7 separate regions of the Homo sapiens genome follow, and all the other regions are linked to region 7. The links are contacts of gene promoters, found by promoter capture Hi-C in blood cells and fetal thymus (Javierre and others, 2016). All regions are on one chromosome and are shown on one strand. Each heading gives the region's core, a stretch centred on a gene start or on the middle of the fragment in contact. The rest is flanking DNA. Distances are from core to core; before and after follow the strand shown.

The links. Contacts are between HindIII fragments. The CHiCAGO score rates a contact against its expected background, and 5 or more counts as called.
Region 1: a contact is called between a fragment that was not itself captured here and the fragment with the promoter of CIMIP4 in region 7, in 2 of 17 cell types (endothelial precursors and M0 macrophages). The highest score is 7.5, in endothelial precursors.
Region 2: a contact is called between the fragment with the promoter of CARD10 here and the fragment with the promoter of CIMIP4 in region 7, in 2 of 17 cell types (fetal thymus and activated CD4 T cells). The highest score is 6.3, in fetal thymus.
Region 3: a contact is called between a fragment that was not itself captured here and the fragment with the promoter of CIMIP4 in region 7, in 4 of 17 cell types (M0 macrophages, M1 macrophages, endothelial precursors and 1 more). The highest score is 6.5, in M0 macrophages.
Region 4: a fragment that was not itself captured here is called in contact with the fragment with the promoter of CIMIP4 in region 7 in 1 of 17 cell types (naive CD8 T cells); the score reaches 5.4 in naive CD8 T cells.
Region 5: a contact is called between a fragment that was not itself captured here and the fragment with the promoter of CIMIP4 in region 7, in 1 of 17 cell types (M1 macrophages). The highest score is 5.4, in M1 macrophages.
Region 6: a contact is called between a fragment that was not itself captured here and the fragment with the promoter of CIMIP4 in region 7, in 1 of 17 cell types (M0 macrophages). The highest score is 6.2, in M0 macrophages.

What each region holds. Positions count from the first base shown.
Region 1 is chr22:36,536,191-36,539,884 of GRCh38, reverse strand. It overlaps the pseudogene LOC100500719. Among named protein-coding and RNA genes, the nearest start is that of EIF3D, 8.9 kb to the right of the region's middle. The HindIII fragment of the contact is 1,465 bases long and covers 1,369-2,833 here.
Region 2 is chr22:37,517,599-37,520,885 of GRCh38, reverse strand. CARD10 (caspase recruitment domain family member 10) reads left to right here and starts at 1,471. Exons shown (of 20, transcript NM_014550.4): 1 at 1,471-1,920; 2 at 2,778-2,915. The coding sequence starts at 1,686. The HindIII fragment of the contact is 26,549 bases long and covers 1-3,287 here.
Region 3 is chr22:36,598,737-36,602,177 of GRCh38, reverse strand. The region is part of intron 1 of CACNG2 (calcium voltage-gated channel auxiliary subunit gamma 2); the gene reads left to right. Among named protein-coding and RNA genes, the nearest start is that of EIF3D, 71 kb to the right of the region's middle. The HindIII fragment of the contact is 170 bases long and covers 1,476-1,645 here.
Region 4 is chr22:37,397,808-37,401,326 of GRCh38, reverse strand. The region is part of intron 2 of ELFN2 (extracellular leucine rich repeat and fibronectin type III domain containing 2); the gene reads left to right. Among named protein-coding and RNA genes, the nearest start is that of ELFN2, 28 kb to the left of the region's middle. The HindIII fragment of the contact is 5,659 bases long and covers 1-3,519 here.
Region 5 is chr22:37,448,921-37,452,242 of GRCh38, reverse strand. No RefSeq gene overlaps it. Among named protein-coding and RNA genes, the nearest start is that of ELFN2, 23 kb to the right of the region's middle. The HindIII fragment of the contact is 1,374 bases long and covers 1,180-2,553 here.
Region 6 is chr22:36,575,636-36,579,155 of GRCh38, reverse strand. The region is part of intron 2 of CACNG2 (calcium voltage-gated channel auxiliary subunit gamma 2); the gene reads left to right. Among named protein-coding and RNA genes, the nearest start is that of EIF3D, 48 kb to the right of the region's middle. The HindIII fragment of the contact is 7,086 bases long and covers 1-3,520 here.
Region 7 is chr22:37,006,599-37,009,871 of GRCh38, reverse strand. CIMIP4 (ciliary microtubule inner protein 4) reads left to right here and starts at 2,021. Exons shown (of 6, transcript NM_001163857.2): 1 at 2,021-2,143. The HindIII fragment of the contact is 2,868 bases long and covers 925-3,273 here.

The DNA of each region.
Region 1 (3,694 bases), core at 852-3,351, 470 kb after region 7:
AACAAGTTACGGGGATGGGAGAGATGCTGTATAACTTCGGAGGCTAGATCACAGAAGGCAGCATGGCTTCCAGCTTGTTCGCCAGAATACTTGCTCTGAACTCCCCACATGGACTCACTACAGAATGACCCTGAGGCTAAATGGAGAGAGAGAAAAACAGAAGCTCCACCCACACCAAACTATAATGCATGAGAGACCCCAGGTCAGAACCACCCAGCCAAGCCCTCTCCCAATTCCTGACCCACAGAAACTAAGAGATATAATAAAAAGACTGTTGTTGTTTTAAACCACTAAATTTTGGTGTGATTGGTTACACAGCAACAGATAATCAGTAACAGAGGACCATTTTACTTCCCTTCTGCCTAGGGTGACCATACCTCCCAGTTTAAGTGAGACAATCCCAGGGCATAATTATTGATAGTAATCCCTTCGTCACCCCCAAAGTGTCCCAAATTTGAATGGTAAGTCATATGGTCACCCTACATTTGGCCAAGTTCTCAGAACACACTTTAGATTCTGGCAACAACTCTTCACTCACAGCCTAGAATAATCGAAATGCCTGAGGTACCTAGCACAGTGTGTTGAAGAAATCAATGCTGGTTCCTTCTCTTTCTCCTAATTCTGTTCTGTCTGAATGCTCAGCAGTATTTTACCAAGAGATGGCTTCGGGCGCAGTGGCTCATGCCTGTAATCCCAGCACTTTCGAAGGCCAAGTCAGGTGGATCACCTGAGGTCAGGAGTTCAAGACCAGCCTGACCAACATGGTGAAACCTCATCTCTACTAAAAATACAACAATTTGCCAGGCATGGTGGCGGGCACCTGTAATCCCAGCTACTCGGGAGGCTGAGGCAGGAGAATCATTTGAACCGGGAGATGGAGGTTGCAGTGAGCCAAGATCTTGCCACTGCACTCCAGCCTAGGCAACACAGCGAGACTCTGTCTCAAAAAAATAAAATTAAATAAAAAGGAGATGGCTTCAGGAGCAGGCTCAGTCCCCTCACAGTCCCTGGAACACTCTCCCCCAACAAAACCTGCATCCTCCTGAAAGCAGAGTACCTGCTACACAGACACAGCTCCCAGGCAAGTCCAGGGCTACCCCCTTCACAAGACGGCTCTCAGTAAGCCTGTCCCACGGGGAAATTCTGGAGCTGCCGCTGGTATTCAAGATGGGAAGGCTCTGAATTCCTTAGAGAGAGCAGGCAAGAGACAGAGGAGGGGCGAGACAACCCTGCAACCGTCTTTTTATTATCTCTCTTGGTTTCTGTGGGACAGGAATTTGGGGTGGGCTTGGCTGGATGGTTCTGCCTTGGGGCCTCTCGGGCCTCTCGGAAAGGCCTTCTTCACCACCCCTGTAAGGGATGGAAGCTTCTGAGTCCACAAAACTGTTCACAAATCCTGGCTCCACCATTTACTCACTGGGCCAAGTACTCAACGACTCTGAGCTTCTTTCTCCCCACCTGCACGAATGGGAGGGTCCATGGCAATTTCAAGGAACTTTTAGAAAAGAATCAAAGAAGTAATTTTTTTTGTTGTCTTTGTTTTTTTCAGAGAGGAAATTATTTATATAAAGCCCATAGCACAGTGCCTGGCATAAAGTAAGCACTCAATGAATGTTATTTTCTTTTTTAAGACACAGGAGCTTACTACTAGAAAATGTACCTGTCTTACCTGGAAGGGACAGAACAGTACAACAAGAAAGGCCAATGGGCCAGTTGCGGTGGCTCACACCTGTAATCCCAGCACTTTGGGAGGCCGAGGGGGGGTGGATAACATGAGTTTAGGAGTTCGAGAACAGCCTAGCCAACATGGCCAAACCCCGTCTCTACCAAAAATACAAAAATTAGCCAGGCGTGGTGGTGCAGGCCTGTAATTCCAGCTACTCCGGAGCCTGAGGCAGGAGAATTGCCTGAACCCCGGAGGCAGAGGTTGCAGTGAGCCAAGATCGAGCCACTGCACTCCAGCCTGGGTAAGAGAGGGAGACTCTGTCTCAAAAAACTAAAAAGGCCAATCAGAAAACAGAAATAACGGTGTATCTCACTTCTAGACACAGACATAGGGGGATGTATGTATATGGAGGGCCTGGCAGGCACCTGTAGTCCCCCTTTTTCAGTTCAGAAAACATTTCTGTCCCGCAGGCGGGGTGCTGTGCACGCCGCGATCCGCATTTGCAGGACCAGGGATGTTGTGCTGCTCTCCGATGAGGCAGTCACAGAGTCTGTCTGCTGCAGCCCTTTCTGAACCTCTGGCTGTCTGGACGCTCCACTGTGCTCCTTACCAAGATGAAGTGCATCTTGGTGGCCATTGAGGGCACAGAGGCCCTCTTCTACTGGACGGATGAGGAGTTTGAAGAGAGTCTCCAGCTGAAGTTCGGGCAGTCAGAGAATGAGGAAGAAGAGCTCCCTGCCCTACAGGACCAGCTCAGCCCCCTCCTAGCCCCGGTCATCATCTCCTCCATGACGATGCTGGAGAAGCTCTCGGACACCTACACCTGCTTCTCCATGGAAAACAGCAACTCCCTGTATGTCCTTCACCTGTTTGGAGAATGCCTGTTCATTGCCATCAATGGCGACCACACCAAGAGCGAGGGGGACCTGCAGCGGAAGCTGTACATGCTCGAGGCATTTCTCAAATGCACAAACATTGTTTCATGAGCCATTTTAGCCCAGATAGGTCATGGTTTCAGTGGCAAATGCTGCAGGTGGTAGATGCCTGTTACATGAACCACATTGGCCAGTGCAGACCTTGCCAGCATCCGAGATGGCTGCAACCCTGTGTAGGGCCCTGATGATAGACCAGACCTTTCTGTGTTCAGTGGCCTCTGTGTGAGAAGCTTAAGCACCACCCTGGCTCTCTCTAGCTGGGTTTATATGACATGTGTTTGTGTGACAGAGATTGAAGAGTGAGGTGATTTGCTCAGCTGCCTGCCTTCTGGCTCCGTGCCTATCCCACCCCACTCCACAGCTAGAGCTGGGCCAGAAACCCGACCCGCTTTCCCAGCTGTGTGGGCAGGTCACATGGGCTCACCTGGCTCTAACACTGAGCTGGGACTCTGGTCCTTTTGTTGGGTGTGGGAGAGACCAGCTTTCTCGTGGTCTCTCCCGCCCTCTCTGGCTCTGCCCTCAGGCTGCGGCCCCCAGACCTGGGGCAGCGTGTCCAGCTGTGGGAGCACTTTCAGAGCCTGCTGTGGACCTATAGCCGCCTGCGGGAGCAGGAACAGTGCTTCGCCATGGAGGTGATTACTGGGCGCAGGAGTCCGCAGGACTTGGAGCTGTCAGGTCAGAGGCGGCCTTCAGCTTTAAGACCATGTTTTAACCCTAATGAGTGAAGGCACAAGCAGCCCCTGAAACTCGTGTATTCAGACAGAGTTGTTCTTTCTGGCCATATGGAGGGTTGGGTACTCTGATGGGCTTTCCCATGGTAAAACAGCTCGATCCTGGATAATACAGACTTTTAATGTAATTTTTGGGTTCACTGTAAATTACAGAAATCTTTGAAGACAGTTCCTTCAACCCTCCCCTCCTCCTCCCACAAAATTATATTGAGGTGGAACAGGAGGGGAAAGCAGTGGAGAAGAACACAGCGCTAAAGGTAAGATTGCCCTGACTGCAAATGATACCAGCACTACAGGCAGTAAACAGCCTTAGGCCAGCAGCAGCATAGTAAAGCTGAGCCTGCAACTCTAGTTTAAGCCCA
Region 2 (3,287 bases), core at 222-2,721, 510 kb before region 7:
GGCAAGTTCCTTGCCCTCTCTGAGCTCTGCTTCCTCCTTTGTTAATTGAGGAATTTGCACTAGAATTCAGTTCTCCCAAAGCATTTCTTCTGCATGTAAACAGGTGACACCCAAAACAAAAACAAATGTACAACAAATGCAAACCAAAAAAAGGCTGTGGTTAATTAAGTTTGGAAAAGGACACCAGGATATATAAAGTTAAATCTGTTTCTTTACTGCTGGGGCTTTTTTTTTTTTTTTTTTTTTTTTTGAGGGGGAGTCTCATTCTGTTGCCCGGGCTGCTGGAGTGCAGTGGCACGATATCACTGCAACCTCCGCCTCCTGGGTTCAAGCGATTCTCGTGCCTCAGCCTCCCGAGTAGCTGGGATTACAGACGCGCACTACCACGTCTAGCTAATTTTTATATTTTTAGTAGAGATGGGGTTTCGCCATATTGGTCAGGCTGGTCTCGAACTCCTGACCTCAGGTGATCCACTCGCCTCGGTCTCCCAAAGTGTCGGGATTCCAGGCATGAGCCACCGCCCCCGGCCTTAATTTAAGCAGGGCTTTTCAGAGCCTTTATTGATTGAAACCTTAATTCTTTGGATAAGTAATACATATGTCCACGGCATCTAATTCAGAAGTTGTGGAAGGCGATTAGGGAGCTCACACCTCTTTCCTGTACCGGTTGTGCCTCCTCTGTTCCTCCCTGGCAGCAGGTACCTGGCAGCTTCTAATGCATAGCGAGACTGTATCGCATGCACCAGCAGATACCGTGTAGACTCGGCCAGTATCATGGTAAGACACCACCGGCCTCCCAGGCAGGAGCGGGAGTATGGATGGCTAGTCACAGCCCGCCCCCAGCATCTCTGGGACCAACACCTGGAGGAATACCCTTTGAGAATTGTGGGGTCCCTGGTCCTCAAGTGCCACGGGAGTTTGCGTAAGAGGGGAGTTGGCAGTGCTGCCCTGCAGGTTCAGACCCCCATCTTGCAGAAAGCCCCCATGACCTCTGCCCATTGCTGTCCCCCGCGGGGCTGTCCTGCGCTCCAGGGAAGCTCCCGCGCCCGCAGTGCATGTGGGGACCCGAGAAGGGCAAGCCCAGCTTGAGTGCCCGCGGGCTGCGCCGGGCGTGAGCGGCTAGCCCCGCACGGGCGGGCGCGCTGTGGGCGTGGGGAGGCGATGCGCGTGGCCCGGGGAAGGTGTGTCGCGGCGCGCGGGGGGTGTGAGCGCGCCTGCCCGCCCCCGCCCCGCCCAGAGGCCGGGCAGGTGTGGGCGGGCGGCCAGGACCCCGCCGAGCCGGGCTGGAGAGCCGGCGGGAAACAGGAAGCAGGGGGAGGCGCAGCCGGACGGCCGGGAGGGAGGGCGTGCAGACGGACGCGCGGGGTGGCCGGGGGCCGGACGCACGACCCGGGGCGGGCGGCAATGTGGGGAGGCCCGGGCAGCCCAGGAGGCTGCGGGGACGGGGGCGGAGCCGGGGGCGCCACGGGCACCGCCCCCCTGCGCCGGCGGAGCCGCCGCCCGAGTGCGGACCCGGGAGCCCGAGGCGACTGTAGCGTGCGGGGTGAGTCGCGGGGAGCTCGGGGCGCGCCCCCGACGGCGGGTCTGCGGACGACGCCCCGGGGGTGCTTGGCCGCACATCTAGCCCTAGGGAGCCCTGGTCGACCCCCGTGCGCCTCTTGCCCGCAGACCCTGAGGACACGGCCATGCCGGGCCGGGCGGAGGCGGGGGAGGCCGAGGAGGAGGCCGGGGCCGGCTCGGGGTCTGAGGCGGAGGAGGACGCGCTGTGGGAGCGAATCGAGGGCGTCCGGCATCGGCTGGCTCGCGCCCTGAACCCGGCCAAGCTCACGCCGTATCTGCGCCAGTGCCGGGTCATCGACGAGCAGGACGAGGAGGAGGTGCTGAGCACCTACCGCTTCCCGTGCCGCGTCAACCGCACCGGTGAGCCGCGGGTCCCGAGTGGGCCACGACCTGGGCCGGCCGTGCCCTGGGGCGCAGCGCCCACAGCCGTGTAGCGCGAAGCTAGGGCTCTGCTGCCCTGGGGCTCGGTCTCCGCATCAGTAGAGTGGGCCGGCTGGGTATGCCCACCAGCCTGCCTCCTCCCCACCCACCACTGCGCCTTGGCGGTCCGCGTTGCCCACACCGGGGTCAGAGTTTTGTCTCTTGGGGTTCTCTCCCACTTCCTGGGTCCACATTAGAGCAGAAGGTTGGATGTGGCTGCCAGGGCCGGCTGGGCCTGGGACCTCCCGGTCACAGCCGGTGGACTTGGCACCTTTCCTGCGCTCTTTGATCTCCGAGTTCTGTCTGTCCCCTCCTCTGTGCACCATACACTCCTGGGGGAGTCCTTTTTCAAGTGTCAAGATCCGTCTCAGCTTTACGTGGGTCCCCACTCCCACAGGGTGTGCCTTTGAACCAGAACTCAAAAAGGCATGATGGAATGGTCTTTAATGGTGGAATTTCAGGCATGGCCAATGGGAGAAGTATTTTCTTTGCTTCTGGGGATAGAGGGGGCTTCTCTGTGCCATTGAAAAGGCAGGCTGCATTTGCGGGCCGGCATCTGTGTCTGTGGGGGGTGTTGGGGAGCTCTGGGAGCCCAGGAGTCATGAGGGAATGTGCTCCCCTGGCTGTGGCAGAATGGCTCTCTTCTCTTCCCTGATGTGTTGGGACAGGCCCCTGTGTGTGTCACTGGCTCAAAAATCTGGGGAACGTGGGCCTGGAGCATGGTGGGGGCAGAAGCAACCAGGCACCTGGGGAGGCCTTCCCCTAGACCCTGGGTACATCCCCCCACTACTCTGTAGGGCGCCTGATGGACATCTTGCGCTGCCGTGGCAAGAGGGGCTATGAGGCCTTCCTGGAAGCCCTGGAGTTCTACTACCCCGAACACTTCACGCTGCTCACGGGCCAGGAACCCGCCCAGCGCTGCTCCATGATCCTCGGTGAGTGGATCTGCGGTGGATGCTGGCACCTCGGACTCCAGTGCACAGGCTCCTTTCCCCATCCCTGTTAGGGAGGCGCTCCCACTATGCCTGTTGAACAGTAAGGGAAACTGAGGCATGGAGAGGCTGAAGGGGCTTGCCCAGGGCCCCACGGTAGGCTGAGGGTGGGGCTGGGTGCTAGTGCCGTTATTCCAAGTTCAGAGCCACATGCTTAAGATGGCTCTTTCTTCGTGATACTGTTTTCAGACATATGTCTGACATACACAGATGTATAGTTTTTTATGTAAAAAAATACAGAGGCTCCAGGTGACTTTGAATTTTTTTTTTTTTGAGACAGTGTCTTGCTCTGTCACCAGGCTGGAGTGCAGTGGC
Region 3 (3,441 bases), core at 311-2,810, 410 kb after region 7:
GAAAATGTATAACACAATTTAAAAATGAGCAGAGGACTTTAATAGGCATTTCTCCAAAGATGACATTAAAATGGCCAATAGGTAAATGGAAAAGTGTCCAACGTCACTAATCTTCAGGGAAGTGCCAATCAAAATGACTGTGAGATACCACTTCTCACCCGTTAGGAGAGCTATTATCAAAAGACATGAGATAACGAGTGTCGGCGAGGGTGTGGAGAAAAGGGAATCCTCGCACACTGTTAGGTGGGAATGTAGGTTGATGCCACCATTATGGAAAATAGTATGGAGTTTCCTCAAAAAAAAATAAAAATAGAACTCCCATATGACCCAGCAATATGTCTTCTGGTATATACCCAAAGGAAATGAAATCACCACCTTGTAATGATACCTACACTCCCCAGGCGCAGTGGCTCACGCTTGTAATCTCAGCCCTTCAGGAGGCCGAGGCGCATGGATCACAAGGTCAGGAGTTCGAGACCAGCCTGGCCCACATGGCGAAACCCTCTCTCTACTAAAAATACAAAAATTAGCCAGGCGTAGTGGCAGGCGCCTGTAATTTGGGAGCCTGAAGCATGAGAATCGCTTGAACCCAGGAGGCGAAGGTTGCAGTGAGCCAAGAGTGTGCCATTGCACTCCAGCCTAGGCAACAAAGGGAGACCCTGTCCCAAAAAAAAATAAAAAATAAAAAAGGTATCTACACTCCCATGTTCATTGCAGCAATACTCACAATAGCCAAAATATGGAAACAATCTAGATGTCCATCAATGGATGAATGAATAAAGAAACTGTGGTGTTTACATACAATGGAATATTATTTCTGATTCAGCCTTTAAAAAGGGAGAGATCTGTCATTTGCCACAACATGCATGAAACTGGAGGACAATACGCTAAGTGAAATAAGCCAGACACAGGAAGAAAACTATTTTATGACTCCACTCATATGTGGAATCTTTACCAAAAAAAAAAGTCAAATATCAAGTATGTAGAGATAGAGAATAAAACAGTGGTTACCAAGATCTGGGGTGAGAGGGAAGAAATGGAGAGATATAGGTCAAAGGATTCAAAGTAGCAAATATACAGGGTGAACAAGTCCAGAGCTCTAATGTACAACATGGGGACTATTGTTAATAATATTGTATTGTATTCAGGATTTTTGCTAAATGAGATTATAGCTGCTCCTGGCACACAGGGAAAAACTGGGTACTATGTGAGATGATGGATGTGTTAGTTTTTCCACTATAGCAACCATTTTGCTGTATATATGTAATCATACAACATCATGTTGGATACCTTAAAGTATACACAATAAAATGCACTTAAAAAAAATTTTAGGCCGGGAGCGGTGGTTCATGCCTATAATCTCAGCACTTAGGGAGGCCAGGGCGGGCAGATCACCTGAGGTTGGGAGTTCCAGACCAGCCTGGCCAACATAGTAAAACTCCATCTCTACCAAAAATACAAAAGTTAGCCAAGCTTGGTGGTGCGTGTCTGTAATTCCAACTACTCAGGAGGCTGAGGCACAAGAATCGCTTGAACTCGGGAGGCAGAGTTTGCAGTGAGCCAAGATCACACCACTGCACTCCAGCCTTGGCAACAGAGCAAGACTCCGTATCAAAAAAAAAAAAACAAATTTAAAAATCAAGCTTTTTTAAAGACTATTTTAACTTGTACAGGTTATGTTCATTAGGATTAGGCTTGGCTATAAAGTTTCCCGCATTTTTTTTTTTGTTTTTTTGGTTTATTTACCTAAAATTAAAAAGACAGGACGGGTGTGGTGGCATGCACCTGTAGTCCCAGCTACTCAGGAGACTGAGGCAGGAGGATCATTTAAGCCCAAGAGTTCGAGGTCACAGTGAGCTATGATCATGCCACTGCACTCCAATCTGGGTGACAAAGCAAGAACCTGTCTCTAAAAAAATTAAAAGTAAGAAAATAAAGATAGTTGATAGTTTATTTCTTTCTCGTTGCACAGCTCTGGAGATAAGTTATCCAAGACTGGTATAACACTCCATGGGAGTGTGGCTCAGATACCCTTTATCTTATTCTACCATCATGCAGCTCTCCATTCTCAAGATTGTCTCATTGACCAAGATGGCGGCTGGAGCTCCTTAGTCCACTTGCCAAGAGGAAAGGACTGAGAAGGGCACATCCCATGCCCTAAAGGCCATTCCTCCCAAGTTGTTCCCATCATTTCCACTCACATCCCATTGGCCAGAACTTTGTCACATGACCACCTCCAGCTGCAAGCGAGGCTGGGAACTAAAGCCTACGTTCTGGGAAGCCATATGTCCAGGCAAAACTTGAAAAGAACAAGACATATTTGGAAACAGCCTCTGTCACAGCAGGGAATAAAGAATAACAATAAAATGAAGAGTGCCTATGCACTCATTACGAAGTTAAAAAATAGAGCATTCCTAGGACATTGAAGCAGTTGTGTGCCCTACCCTATCTCAAGAAAACATTCTTTTTTTTTTCTTTGAGACAGGGTCTTCCTCTGTCACACAAACTGGAGTGCAGTAGCATGATCATGGCTCACTGCAGCCTCAACCTCCCAGGCTCTAGCAGTCCTCCTGCCTCAGCATCCCGAGTAGCTGGGACTACAGGTGTGCACCACCATGCTTGGCTAATTTTTTATTTTTTTGTAGAGACAGGATTTCGCCATGTTGCCCAGGCTGGGTTGGAACTCCTGGGCTCATGCGATCCTCCCACCTCCACCTCCCAAAGTGCAGGGATTACAGGTGTGAGCCACCACGCCCAGCTGCAAACACTCTTAAACTTGATGTTTATCATTCCCTTGCTTGACTTTACAGTTTTGCCACATACACATGTATTTCTAAATAATCTATAACATGTTTTTAACTTAATGAAAATGGAATCATACCATATGCATTTTTCTGCAGCTTGATTTTTTTCTGTCCAGTGTTATGTTTGTGGAATTCATCTGGGTTGACTTGTGTAGCTGTAATTCACTAACTTTCACTGCTGTACACTACATTACATCAATATACTATGCTATCATTTCTCCGATAATAGAAATCTGGGCTATTCCAAGTTTGTTGTTGTTATAAGCAGTGCTGTTATGAACATTCTCATACATCGTGTGCATGTATGCAAGTGTTTCTTCAACACACATTTCTAAGCAGAATTGCTGAGTTGCAGGCTATACGTATGTTTTGATATATTCAAATAGATTTGGATTGGGGGCAGGGTCTCACTCTGTCACCCAGGCTGGAGTGCAGTGACATGATCTTGGCTCACTGCAACCTCCGCCTCCCAGGTTCAAGCAATCTCCCACCTCAGCCTCCCGAGTAGCTGGGACTACAGGCGCGTGCCACCACACTTGGCTAATTTTTGTATTTTGGGTACAGACAGGGTTTCACCATGTTGGCCAGGCTGGTCTAGAACTCCTGATCTCAAGTGACCTGCCCACCTTGGCCTCCC
Region 4 (3,519 bases), core at 1,013-3,512, 390 kb before region 7:
ATCTTTAAAATGAGGACAATGATAGTGTTATATATACTGCCCAACTGTGTGTCCCTGTCTTAGACACTGCCCACCTGAGATGACACTGGCTGGTTGGGGAGCTGTGCTCCCTTTGCTAGTTGACCTGCTTTTTGGAGACCCTTTGTCTCCAATAGGCCTGAGAGCTAGGTGACCCTTCCTCTGGAAGACCAGGCAGCCCCACCTGGCCTAGGCCCCACGGCCCCCGCATGTTCCGCTTGTAATTCCTGGTACCCTGTTTGACTGACTCCCTTGGAGCCGTGGGCTTCCTCAGGGCAGTGCCATGTCTGTTGAGGTCATTGCCAGTCCCCTGCACCGTCCCCAGGACTTGGCACAGAGCCAGGACTTGAGAATCGGTATGAAATGAATGACTGAATGAAATACTTAACCTGTGACCGTTTTCGCCACTTAGGGATTACAAGTCCCTTCCAGGTGTGTAGTGATTTATGGGTTTTGAAAGCACTTTCAGGCTAATGCCCTCGTTTGATCTCCACCTTTAGATCCCTCTACAAGAAGGCAAGGCAGGGCCTGTGTCCGGCATGGACTCTCTCACGCTTTTATTTGTTCAAGGAAACTCTTGAACTCCTGTTCTGGGCCGGGTGCTGGGACCCTGGCGGGGAGTGAGGCCATGTCCTTCCCTCCAGGGGCTCAGGGGCTGCTCCCAGCAGGCGTGCCCACCGAGGGTGGGTGGGGAGGCTGAGGGGGCCTTGGGGAGTCCTGGCACCCCTGCAGGCCTCAGGCTCCCATCTGTCTAATGGGTGACAGCGAAGAGGTTTAAGCTCTTCCAATTCTGCCAGGCTGTGATTCTTGGTAGTCAGGTTTGGTCACCAGGCACCTGCTAGGAGGCCCTAAGATGCCAGAATGCCTTTGCCCCAGCCCTGCCCAGGCAGCCCTGGCCCTCCAGGTGGCTGAGGTGCTCCTCAGGCACAGGTGTGTGGGCCTCCGGGGGTGAGGGGAGGGGACAACTGCCCCTGCTGCTACCCCCAGGCCCGTGTCAGTGGGGGCAGCTCTCTGTCCACAGTGGGAGTCGGCCTGTGGACAGAAGGTGAAGTCTGATTGGACCGGAGTGGGGTGGGATGGGGGTAGACACGAGGGGGTGGGTCAGCATCTCTGAGTGGAGTGGAGGGTGGTTGAGGCCCCTGACCTGGGAGGATAATAACCCCGCCTTTCCTTACATTCTTCTCCCTTGCACTCCCTTGCCCCTCCCGGTTTCCTAGGGACCTGCTGCATGGGCTGGGGACGTGGAGGGCTTGGCCTTTGGAGGCAGGGAGGGGGTGGTTGCAGGCCTCACCCTGCAGCAGCCTGGCTTTGGGCAGTTGTTTCCCTTCTCTGTGCCTCAGTTTCCTCCTCTGTCCTTTGCGAATGATGCTGGTTTGAGGGTTCAGTGGGTGCTGAGGAAGCACGTGGTCAAGCTCTGCAAGCCCTTCCTTCTTTCATTTACCAGGAGGAGCAAGGCGGCCATGGCGGGGAGGTGGTGGCTGGAGCAAGTGAGTGAGGTGGGAGGTGAAGAAGTGAAGTCTGGGAAGATTTTGGATACTATTCCAATCTCATGGGAGCCAGCAGCCGGTGAGGGCAGAGGCCGGTGGCCCAGGTGTGCGACGCAGGGGGCTCAGTGGGGGTGGGAGAGGTGGGCTGATGGTCCCCGTGGTCGGTGGAGGTGGGAGAGGTGGGCTGGTGGTCCCCGTGGTCGGTGGAGGTGGGAGAGGTGGGCTGGTGGTCCCCGTGGTCGGTGGAGGTGGGAGAGGTGGGCCGGTGGTCCCCGTGGTCGGTGGAGGTGGGAGAGGTGGGCTGGTGGTCCCCGTGGTCGGTGGAGGTGGGAGAGGTGGGCCGGTGGTCTCCGTGGTCTGATCAACTTGCTTGCTGTGCCTCCAGGCACTCAGGGGTGGCACAGGAGGGAGCATGTTTCCTCAGCAGACAGTTCTCAAGGAGCCAGTATGGGCCTGGGCATGAAAAGAGTCCCTGCCCTCAGGAAGCCCACACAGGGGCAGACTTGCCAGCCAGTCCTTACAGGGTGGCTGAGGCCTGGTGGGCTGGAAGGCTTCCTGTAGGAGGCAGCTTTGAGTCCTGCCTGAGAAGTAGCACTCACTGGGCGGGGATGGGACAGGAGGGTACTCCAGGCCGGGGAATCTCAAGGGGAAAGGCCAAGAGCTGCAAAAAGCCTCTCCGAGTTCAGAGAGGGGTAAGAAGCTCACGTGCCCATCCCTGGGAGTGGGGAGGGAGGATCCAGGAGTCTGGGGAGGACACCAGAGGCCCCTGAGCTCCCTCCGGGCCAGGAAAAGGCTGGACGCTGTGTCTTCCAGCAGCAGGGAGCATGTATGTGTTTGGGAACAGGCCAGGTGGATGCTGTGTTCCAGGAAGGAGCTGGTAGGGGAGCTGAGGAATTACAGGGGGTGTTTCTTGGAGGTGCTGTTCTGGGGTTGGGCTGGAGGTGGGAAGGTGGGTAAGGCAGGAGTGGAAGTAGAGGCCCAAGCAAGGGAGGAGCCTAGGAGATCCCGCACCAGCTGGAGAGGTGTACATGTGTGCACATGTGTGCACACATGACATGTGTAGATGCGTGTGTGTGCACGCCTGCGTGTGTGAAGCGGGGAGCAGTTTGTCTTGATGGTATTGGAGGGCACATTGCAGAGACAGAGCCAAGCCAGATCATGAGGGGCCTAAACTGTGGAGCAGAGGAGCTGGGGAGGCGCCAGAGGCTTTAGAGCAGGGCGGCGATGTGAGTGCGCTGCGGGAGGCTTCCTTGGGCTGCTGTGCAGAGGATGGGCTGAGGCAGGGTAGGCGACAGTCAGTTAGGAGACTGCTGTGCTGGGGGGCTTTACTGGGGTAGGGGGAAGGGGCCGGACAGGAGTGGGGTGGTGGAGCCCAGGGCGGCTCAGTGGAAGAGGTAGCATTTGATGAGAATGTAAAGGGTGAGAGGTTTGCTTTCTGGAAGTGGAAGGAGAGGCACGGCAGGTGGCTGGAACAGTCCCTACGAAGGCTTGCAGGAGGGAGAGGCCAGGCTGGAGGCCAGTATATTCAGGGGCCTTTGAGGAATAAAGGGCAGGTTGGAGTCAAAAAATAATGTTGTTTAGTGAGGCCCTCCATGTGCCCGGCACGGTCTACCCAGGCCTGAGCGCTAGCTCCACCGCCCACAGCTGCCTGGCTCTGGGTAAGGCGTTTGACCCTGGCACCTTCATTGTCTATCAAATGGGGACCCTGTTAGACTCAGCCTCCCAGAGTCACTGTGAGGATTAGATGCAATAATCCACCCGCAGCGTGGCCTGGAAGATGTTCGGCTGTTATTGGCTGTGTCCTTACCGTCTCATTTGACACAGCAACCCTGCAGGGCAGCCTCGCACCCCCAGGGACCAGTGCAGACGTCCGCTCAGAGAAGCTGCGCGGGCTGCCGAGGCCACACAGCTGAGGGGAACCGAGCAAGGGTCTGAGTCCAGGTTATGAGGACCCCAGACTTGGTGTTCTTTCCCGGGTGCCCACAGCCTCCCAGAACGCCTGTAAAATGCCCAG
Region 5 (3,322 bases), core at 617-3,116, 440 kb before region 7:
GGAGTGCAGTGACAAGTGGCACAATCTTGGCTCACTGCAGCCTCGACCTCCTGGGCTCAAACGATCCTCCCACCTCAGCCTCCTGAGTAGCTGGAACTACAGGCGCATACCACCACACCCAGCTAATTTCTTTTTACGTTTCTTTTGTGGAGATGGGATCTTACTCTGTTGACTAGGCTGATTTCAAACACCTGGCCTCAAGTGATCCTTGTGCCTTGGCCTCCCAAAGTGCTGGGATTACAGGTGTGAGCCGCAGTGTCTGGCCTGCTTTCATTTATCTTGTGTAAATACCTAGGAGTGGAATGGTTAGGTTATAGAATAGGTGTTTATTTAGTTTTTTTCAGCGTCTTAGTCCCTTCCTCTTGCTACAACAAAATATCTGAGATGGGGTAATTCATATAAGAGAAATGTATTTCCCATAGTTCTGGAGGCTGGGAAGTCCAAGATCAAGATGCCTGCAAATTCAGTGTCAGGTGAGGGCCTGGGCTTTCTTATTACATCCTCACATGGTGGAAGGGACAAAAAGGGACAAACAGTTCCCTTGAACCTCCTCTATAAAAGCATGATTCCCATCCAGAAGGGCTCCACCCTCATGGCTTCCTCACCTCCTAAAGGTCTCATTTCTTAGTCCTCTCATATTGACAACTATGAATTTTGGAGGGGACACATACCTTCAAACCATAGCAGGAAGAAACTGCCAAACAGTTTTTCAAAGTGGCTGAACCATTTACACTCCCACTCACTGTATAAGAAAGTTGATCCTCATCCTTCCAACATTTGATGTTTTTGTTCTTTTAAATGTTGCCAGTCTGGCGAGTGTGAATGACAGCTTGAGGTAATTTCAAGTTGTGTATCTCTGCTGCTTGCTCATGGTTGGTGTCTTTTTCAAGTATATATTGAGCATTTTGATACTCTCTTTTGTGAAGTGCCTGTTCATATCTTTTGCCCACTTAAAAATTGTTTTTTTTTCTTATTGATTTGTAGGAGTCCTTTATTTATGCTGGCTACTAGTCCTTTCTCAGATATATGTACTGAAATATCTTTTCTGCATGTGTGGATTGATTTTTCTTTCTCTTGATGGTGTATTTTGCTGAACATAAGTTTTTAATTGTAAGGAAGCCCAATTTGTAATTTTTTCCTTTTATGTCTAATGCTTTTCATGTCTTGTTTAAGCAAGCTTTGCCTATCAAAGTGGATTCCTTTTAACAAGTGAATCTCCCTTGCCTCACCCCATCTGGCTGCTCTCTCTGCCTCCTCATGCCCTATTGGATCTGCCTCCCAGCCCAGTGCTCCCAGAAGCAGGAGTGGGGAAGGTGGAAATGGTATGGGAGATCTGTGGCAAAGTGAAAGGCAAAGCCTAGATTACCCCCTCCCCAGGAAAGGAGATCTGTATCTCCCACCCCCTTCCTTCCCCTGTACAGATTTGGGTTTATGTTGGGCTGCAAGATTAAAGCCAAAGAGATTAAAAGATTACCTCTGGCCAGGAAGGCAAATTCTGCCTCTTTGCTCTTGGAGCTGGTTTGGGGGGAATCGGGGAGGAAGGAGGGCGGGTGGTGGCCATGATGGAGCCGCCTCCACCTCCAGATCCCCTCCTCCGACTTCCTGCTGAGAACCCCTCCCCGTGGTAGACTGAGGCCTAGGCCACCCTTACTGGGTGTGGCCTTGGGCACAAGCTCACCTTTCTGGGCCTCAGTTCTTAAGATGTAGAGTGGTGAGGGGGCTGAGCTGGATCAGCGACACCAACATGGGCTCTAGTGGGTTCTGAGTGTGGCCCCTGGACCAGTGTCCCAGCATCAGCCAGTAACTTGTTAGAAATGCAACCTTGGGCCCTTCTCCAGGCCTACTGAGACAGGAACTCAGGGGGCAGCAATCAGGGTTTGAAAAGCCTCCAGCGAATGAACACGAAGATCTGAGAGCCAGTGTCTTTAATAATGATAACACTTGATAATATTTAGAGCATTTAACTCTATAATCCCCAGTGACTCTTCTAAAGAATATGTATCTGTTGATTAGGATGCAGGTCCTGTAACTCACCCTGCTTTGCACATGAGGAAACTGAGGCACAGAGAGGGGAAGCAGCTTGCCCATGGTGAAACAGCTACTATGGGGCAGAGCCTGAAATTGGACTGGGGAGGCTGGCCGCAGAGGCTGAACTACTGACTGCTGCGCTGTGTGGCGTCGAGTTCCCAGGGCCTTCACAGACACCCACAGCCTTCATCAGCTTCTCCAAGGGGTGGGGGGCTCCAAAAGGCTGATCTCTAAAAGGGGTCCCTAGCACTCAAGGCCCTTTCCTGGCCTCCTTCCAGAGCTACTTGAGATCTGCTCGGACCAGGAAGGACACCTTCCTGCTTCCTCTCCTTGTCTTTGGGGGCTGCTAGGAAACCCCGTGGCTGAGGCTGCGACAGAGACACACAGTGCTAGATGTCTCGGAGATTCATCCACGCCTCAGGTCCTATTTCCTCACTCAGTATTTAGTGAGACCCAGCCAGAGAGGGGTAGAGGCTGGCAGAAAGCTGGAAGCTGAGAGAAGGCAAAAAGGGGAAGAGAAAAGCTTTCTATTAATTTTATGATCCTCGCTGCTAGCCCCCTCCTGCCGCTAGGGATGGTGAACTTCCCCCTCTCCCCTCGATGCTGAAAAGCGATCAAGGAACAGCCACGGCAGAGATGAGGGAGCTGATTTATGGGGCAGCCCTGGGAGCAGGAGTGAGCACGCTGGCTGGGAGGCAGCCATCCATCATGGCTCCCTGGAGAGCAGAGAGGGCCTTGGTGCCCAGCTCCACCGCCTGCTCCTGCCCGGCCCCCGCCTGTGCCCCCACTGGGTCACCTGTCCTGCCCTGTTCTCTGCCAGGTCACCAAGGGCCCTGCTTTCAGGGAGGGGACCTTGCCTCAGAAGCTTTGGGGCCACCAGCGCCTGTGCCTCTCACTTTCCTTCCTCAGTTCTCTTGGGCCTGCAGCCCCTTTGTACCTTGGAGTGAGGTGGGTTGGGAGGAAGGACCCCTGGGGAGGATGCTGGGCAAGTCCCTTCTCTAGATCTCAGTCTCCTCATCTGTAAAACGAGGGCTTCAGCCCAGCCCAGCCCATCCCAGCCAGCCTCCCAGGGCGGGTTGTAGAGGGGAATGGCGTGGCTGTGAGCTGTGAAATGTGAGGCTGTAACGAGGCCCTCGCCTCTTACGGCTGTATTCCTGCATGTGTGCTGGGCTGCGGGGGCGGAGGGTCTGAGTGCGTGCTTTGTATGCCACACCTCTCTGTATGTGCAGGTGTGTTCACCTGTGCATATGCACAGTGAGTCCAAGCTGCCGACGCACGCAAGGTGCATGTGCGT
Region 6 (3,520 bases), core at 8-2,507, 430 kb after region 7:
TGGGATTACAGGTGTGAGCTATCATGCCCAGTCGAGCTGGCAGCTTTTACTGACAGCCTGGATGGGAGAAGTAAGAGAGAGGTCTTGTGGATGGCGAGGAGTTCTGGCTGGCAGATGGGGCAAACATTACTGCCCTTCTCTGAGGCTGGGAATGTAGGACGAGGCTGCTGTGCGGGGAGGTGACCACTCTATTGCCGGTCTGTTTCATCTTGGTTTCTGTTACGGAATCTTCTCCCCACGGACTGTGAACAGCTTGAGGACACCACAAGGAGTGGCTGCAAATAGAGTGTCCTCCTCCCACCCATCCACCCCCTCCAGCACAGGGCCTTTCCCAGGATCAGACCCAGGAGAGGTTTGCTAAGTGAATAAACAAGGTACCGCCCGCCCTAGGGCAGCTGGCATGTTCACCCTCTTCCCAGAATGAGGTCAGAGGAGGATATTGGGTGTCAACCTGGGCCAGAGCCACCCTTCCTGGCCTCAGACAGTGTCCCTCCTTCCCATTGCCCCTCTCTCCCCACCTCCACCAGTCCCACCAGGGAACATGAGCCAGGGAAGTGTGGGGAGACCAGGTGTCAAAACCCGAGGTTGTTACTTAGAATAAAAGGGCCTGAATTCAAGGGGTGCTCCACTCTGTGACCTTTGGCAAGTTACACAACTTCTCTGAGCCTCCCGTGAACAGTGCTTTTTTAGGTCTCCCCAGAGCCCCAGTGGAACAGCATGAGGGGCGTCCACCAGGCTTCACCCGCCTAGAGTTTTAGAAGTGTAATGATCCATCATTCCGGCTTTTTTTTTTTTTTTGAGATTGAGTCTCGCTCTGTCACCCAGGCTGGAGTGCAGTGGTGCCATCTCGGCTCACTGCAACCTCCGCCTCCTGGGTTCAAGCAATTCTTCTGTCTCAGTAGCTGGGATTACAGGTGCACGCCATCACACCCAGCTAATTTTTTGTATTTTTTTTTAGTAGAGACGGGGTTTCACCATGTTGGCCAGGTTGGTCTCAAACTCCTCACCTCAAGTGATCTGCCAGCCTTGGCCTCCCAAAGTGCTGGGATGACAGGTGTGAGCTACCGCACCCAGCCCATCATCCTAGCTTAGGATCACCCAGCCCCACCCTCCCATTTTACAGATGAGGGAAAAACGGAGGCCCAAGAGGGAAAATGACCTGCCCCAGCCCGGCACACTTTCTGGGACTGCACCCTGGGAGCATTATCCAGGTCCATTATCCTGCTACCTGTCCACTGCCCAGGGCTCTCAGCCCCTTCTAGAAAACATTGCCATGAGGGGGCTTCTGAGAGACATCCCCTCCAGAAGTCATCACAACCAGTGCGGCTAAAACTATTGTGACCCCACCCCATGGTTAGGAAACATCTAAGCTGCCACTTGTACTCACTCACATCTGCAGAACCAGAGCAAAATGTTCCCCAAAAGCCACCCAGCCTTCCTGAACGCACACTGGCCGGCAGTTTCTATTCTGTCCTAGTTCATTTCTTTTTTTTTTTTTTTTTTTTCCAAGACGGAGTCTCACTCTGTCGCCAGACTGGAGCGCGGTGGCATGATCTCGGCTCACTGCAACCTCCGCCTCCCCGGTTCAAGCGAGTCTCCTGCCTCAGCCTCCCAAGTAGGTGGGACTACGGGCCTGCGCCACCACGCCTGGCTCATTTTTGTATTTTTAGTAGAGACCGGGTTTCACCATGTTGGCCAGGATGGTCTCGATCTCTTGACCTCGTGATCCACCCGCCTCGGCCTCCCAAAGTGCTGGGATTACAGGTGTGAACCACCGCGCCCGGCCCCGGTTCATTTCTTTAAGGGCTGGTTGCTACCACTACACCGATTTCATGACCTAGTAATGAGTCACAACCCACACTTTAATAAATAGCAGCCTCAGTAACCCAAAGCCCGGTGAGAGACAGCAACAATTTGCTCCGCTGGAATGATGAGCACGATTTGCTGGTGCTCCTCGCATACCAGACATTATTCTCATTGCTTCAAGTGTGTGTACTCAGTTACTCCTCATAGCACCCTGTGAGCTAAGTGTGCTTGTGATCTCCATATGGCAGAGGGGGCAGCAGAGGCCCCCGGGGGACCAGGTCACAGCTAGGAAGATGGACTCCGGCAGCCTTTCTCCTGAGCCTGTGCGACTGGTCACCAATCTCTACTGACAGCAGGAAGCAGGGATGTATCCGGCATCCTGCACAGATGGTACTCCCCAAGTTAGCTCCCTGGGCTCTCAAAATGCTTTTCATGTGCTATTATATATAGCACACGTTCATTGAACACTTGACGATGTGCCAGGCCTGACACTTGAAACATTATCTTAATTCATCTTCACAACCACCCTATGAGGGTGAGATGATCAGTGTCCCCATCACACAGATGGGAAAGGCAAGGCACAGAGGCTACAGAGCCAGTGGGGGTCCAGGAGGAGACCCCAAGCGGGCTGCATCTGGAACCCATGCTCCAAACCATAGCGTTTGACTTCTCTTTCTATTTCTCACCCACCATCTTTGTTCTCCTCTTTCTTCTTTGAGGTCTTTCTGACTCTCTCTCTCTCACACACACACACACATACACACACACACACACACGCACACACAGAGGCATTTTGGAGTGTTTTTTTTTTTAATTTTTTATTTCCAGAGGTTGTTGGGGAACAGGTGGTGTTTGGTTACATGAGTTAGTTCTTCAGTGGTGATTTGTGAGATTGTGGTGCACCCATCATCCAAGCAGGACACAATGAACCCAATTTGTAGCCTTTTATACCTCATCCTCTCCCCACCCTTTCCCCCTGAATCCCCAGAGTCCATTCTATCATTCTTATGCCTTTGCATCCTCGTAGGTTAGCTCCCACTTATGAGTGAGAACATATAATGTTTGGTTTTCCATTCCTGAGTTACTTCACTTAGAATAATAGTCTCCGATCTCACCCAGGTTGCTGCAAATGCCATTAGTCATTCCTTTTTATTGCTGAGTAGTATTCCATCATATTTATACCACAGTCTTTATCCACTCATTGATGGATAGGTATTTGGGTTGGTTCCACAATTTTGCACTTGCAAATTGTACTGCTATAAACATGCATCACACAGGCATTTTTTGAAACGCATCCCTTCTCACGGCCATTGGCTACACCAGCCAGCACAGCGTGGAAGGAGAAGATGGGAAGAGATGCCCAAGAGACTAGAAAGCTCCTTGCAACCCAGCAGGTCTGTGCAGGTCTGTGACTGTAGACTGTATCCCCTAATGCGGATTGATCCTAATGATCCTAATTCATCCTAATGATGAGTCAAATCCCAGATGGGATAAGAGCATAACACTAGGCACAGAAAATGAGGAACCTGCCCGCTACATACCTGATTACGGTGACTATTTTGATTCAAGGTCATTACTCGCACAGGGAACAGGTAAGGCAGCAGCATGGCCTGGCTGTATGGGCCCTGGGGAGAGGTCTTGATGGGCACGGGACCATCATTGAGGGACAGGGCCTTAGAGATCGTCTACTCCAACCTCATCAGAGTGCAGATCT
Region 7 (3,273 bases), core at 772-3,271:
ATAGGAGTAGGGAGTGTGGGGTGGGCTGGGATGCTTTTTAAGAAAAGGTGGTCTGGGAAGGTGAGCAGAGTCTTGAAGGAGGTGAAGAGGCAAGCCATGTAGGCATGTGGGGGAAGGAAGTTGCAGGAGAGGAGAGGGAACAGCCCGTGCAAAGGCCCCGAGGAGGGACTGTGCTTGGTGTGCCCAAAAAACAGCAGAGCCTGGCATGGCAGGGACCCAGGGAGCACTTGGGAAAGTGAGAGGAGCAGAGGTCAGAGAAAAATGGTGGACAGGTTGGGTAGGGCCTTGCAGATAAATGGGAGGATGTCAGCTTTTACTGTGGTTGAGCTGGAAGGTTTTGTTTAGAGGGGTGACATATGATCTAATATAGGTCTTAACAGGATTGCTGGGCTGTTGAGTGAGAAGACTGTCAGAGGATATGGTGGACTCCAGGGTGGTCCCCATATTATCTGCCCCCTCGTGTTCATGCCCCGTGTGACCCTCTCCCTTTCACTGCGGGTGGGACCCGTGACTTGCTTTTAACCAACAGCCTACGGCAAAGGTGATGGATGCCACTTCTGTGACTATGGTACACAACATTGTAATGCCCCATCTTGCAAGGGGACTCCCTCTTTGCTGGCTTTGATGAAGTCAGTGTCATGTTGGTGTTGGGGGGCCCACATAGCAAGGAACTGAGGATGGCCTCTGGCTGACAGCCAGAGAGAGCCTGAGACCCTCAGTCTAACAGACTGCAAGGAACTGAATCCTCCCACAGCCACATGAGCTTGGAAGCATATTCTTCCCTAGTGGAACCTCAGATGAGACTGCAGCCCTGGCCAATACTTGGATTGTAGCCTGCTAAGACCCCAATGCAGAGAACTCAGCTAAGCCATGAGTAGACACCCGACCCAAAGAAACTGTGAGATAACAGTTGTATGTTAAGCTTCGAAGTTTATGGCAAGATTGTCGTGCAGCAATAGATAATACTTAGGCAAGAGATGAGGGTGGCTTGGACCAGGGAGTAGGGGGAGTTGTGGAGGTGGACGAAGGCATCCAAATCTAGTGTACTTCGAAGGACTTGCTGATGGGTTGCTTGCGGAAGTAGCTTAGAGTTTTGTGATGTCTCTCTCTGTGCAAGGCAATGTGCTACATTTTGCAAAAAATTGTTTTATTCGCCCATCACCCTTATCCTTAGTGTTGGGTGATATCTGTTTCACATGTGAAGGAAGTTCAGCTAAAGGACTTGGCCAGTCTCTTATCTAATAAGTGACAGGCCCAGATTCTGGGGACTCCAAGTTTAACCACAGCACTCTCTGTTTCCTGGGGAAATCCTGAAAGGCTGGGCTTGCAGGAGGCGTTCACTATACCCACTCTTTGTCCAGGCTGAGCAACAGCCAGACAGGAATGGGCCAGTGCTGGCACCAATGACTTCTGCCTCCTTCTTCTCTGCAGAAAAGAAGTCACTTAATTTTGTTGATCTCCTTCTGTAGCCCTTGTTGTTTAGGAATAGGAGAGAGGACCCTTCCTTTAGTTTTACTCCCAGGTCCCTGATCCCTGGGTGTCCAAATCAGACAGCTCCAGATGCATCTTTCTCCTTCCCCATTGACCTCGACCTACATTTATGCTGTTATACACATCCATGCCTTTAATATTCTCATCCCTTCAAAACTGTTAAGTTCCTAGGCATCCTTCAAGATCCAACTCAAATGGCTCTTTCATAAGTCCTTCCTCCTTTTTCCTACACAGAGCTAGTTCTTCTCCCTACTTAGTGCTTTGAGCTCCCAAGAACATCTTTTGCACTTGGTAGCATCTGAGCCCCCTGTGCCTGGCACACCTGGCATGTAGTGGGGGCTCAACTGACATTCTAGAGTGGATGAGAGAGTGAACAATAATTGAAGCCCCTCCTGCCTTTTCCTGGCCTCAATCCTGGCTTTCTCCTGGCCTCTTTTCCCTACGGGTGGGCCTATCAGCCCTCTGAGGTAACAGAGCCCTGTGTATAGTGATCACCATGGCAACTCCAATGAACATCTTGGGGAGGGCCACTTCCCAGCAACCATCCATTGGTCTTCACCAGTAGTTCTGCAGTGGGGATCTGCACTTCTGGGCTTCAGCACACATCAGTGTGGTTCACGTGTTTCCTGCTGTTATGAAAGAGATTGGAGAGGTGAGGCAGAGACTTATGAAGGGCCAGGGTTCTTCCAGGACATGGGGTTTCATCTTCCTTCTCCCCATTCAGAGTTGCTTGTGAGTGAAGACTGCCTAGACTGGACTTACCTTCCCGCCCTCTTTGACCAAAGTCTCTTGGGATCTCTCTCTCTGGGTCAGAAACTGGAAGTGAGTCCACACTTCCATTGTAGCCCGTCCAGACTGCTGTGGACTGGCAGTGCACTGGGACGTACAGAGCTGCCGTGGGCACGTCAGGTTGGTGGCTGGGGATAGGAGGAGAAAGAAAACTTGGAGCTAACTTGAACTTCACCTAGCTTGAAGATGTGCAATTTAATTTTAGCCCCACCTGGTGAAGTCCTGTGTCTTTTCGGAGCCTCATTTTCTCCATCTGTGAAAGAAGATAAATTAGTAGTGTCTCCGAACACCTTACTGGGTATTTGTGAAGACCAGACTAATTTACCAGATGTGAGAATGCTTGACATGGACTTGTGTTAGTTATCTCTTGCTGCACAACAAATCACCCCAAAACTTAGTGGGCTTAAGACAACATTTACTATCTCACAGTTTCTGTGAGTTGGGAATACCGGTGGAGTGTTGGTGATTTTTCTGTCCCAGGGTCTCTCACAGGCTGCAATCAAGGTGTTGCTTGGGTCTCTAGTCTCATCTCAAAGCTCGACCAGAGAAGGAACCCATTCACATGGCAGGATCCAGCTACTCTGGAGCTGTTGGCAAGAGGCCACTCTGAGTTCCTTGCCCTGTGGACCTCTCCATAGGGCATCTCACAACAGGGAAACTGGCTTCTGTCAGAGAAGATGAGCTGAGGAGAGCTGCAGAGAGTGTGTGAAAAAGACAGAAGTTGTAGTCTCTTATAAGTTCATCATGGATGCAACATCCCTCATTTTTGCCACATTCCATTCATCACTATGTCCAGTCCACACCAAAGGGGAGAGAATTATACCAAGAAACAGGGATCATTGGGAGCCATGTCAACTGCCTGCCACTCTCTGCCCTCTGGCCCCCAATAATGTACATCCCTTCCACATGCAAAATATAGTCATCCCCTCCTAAGATCTTTAAAATTCTCATCCTATTAAAGCATCAGTTTAAAAGCTAGAATCTGGTCATATA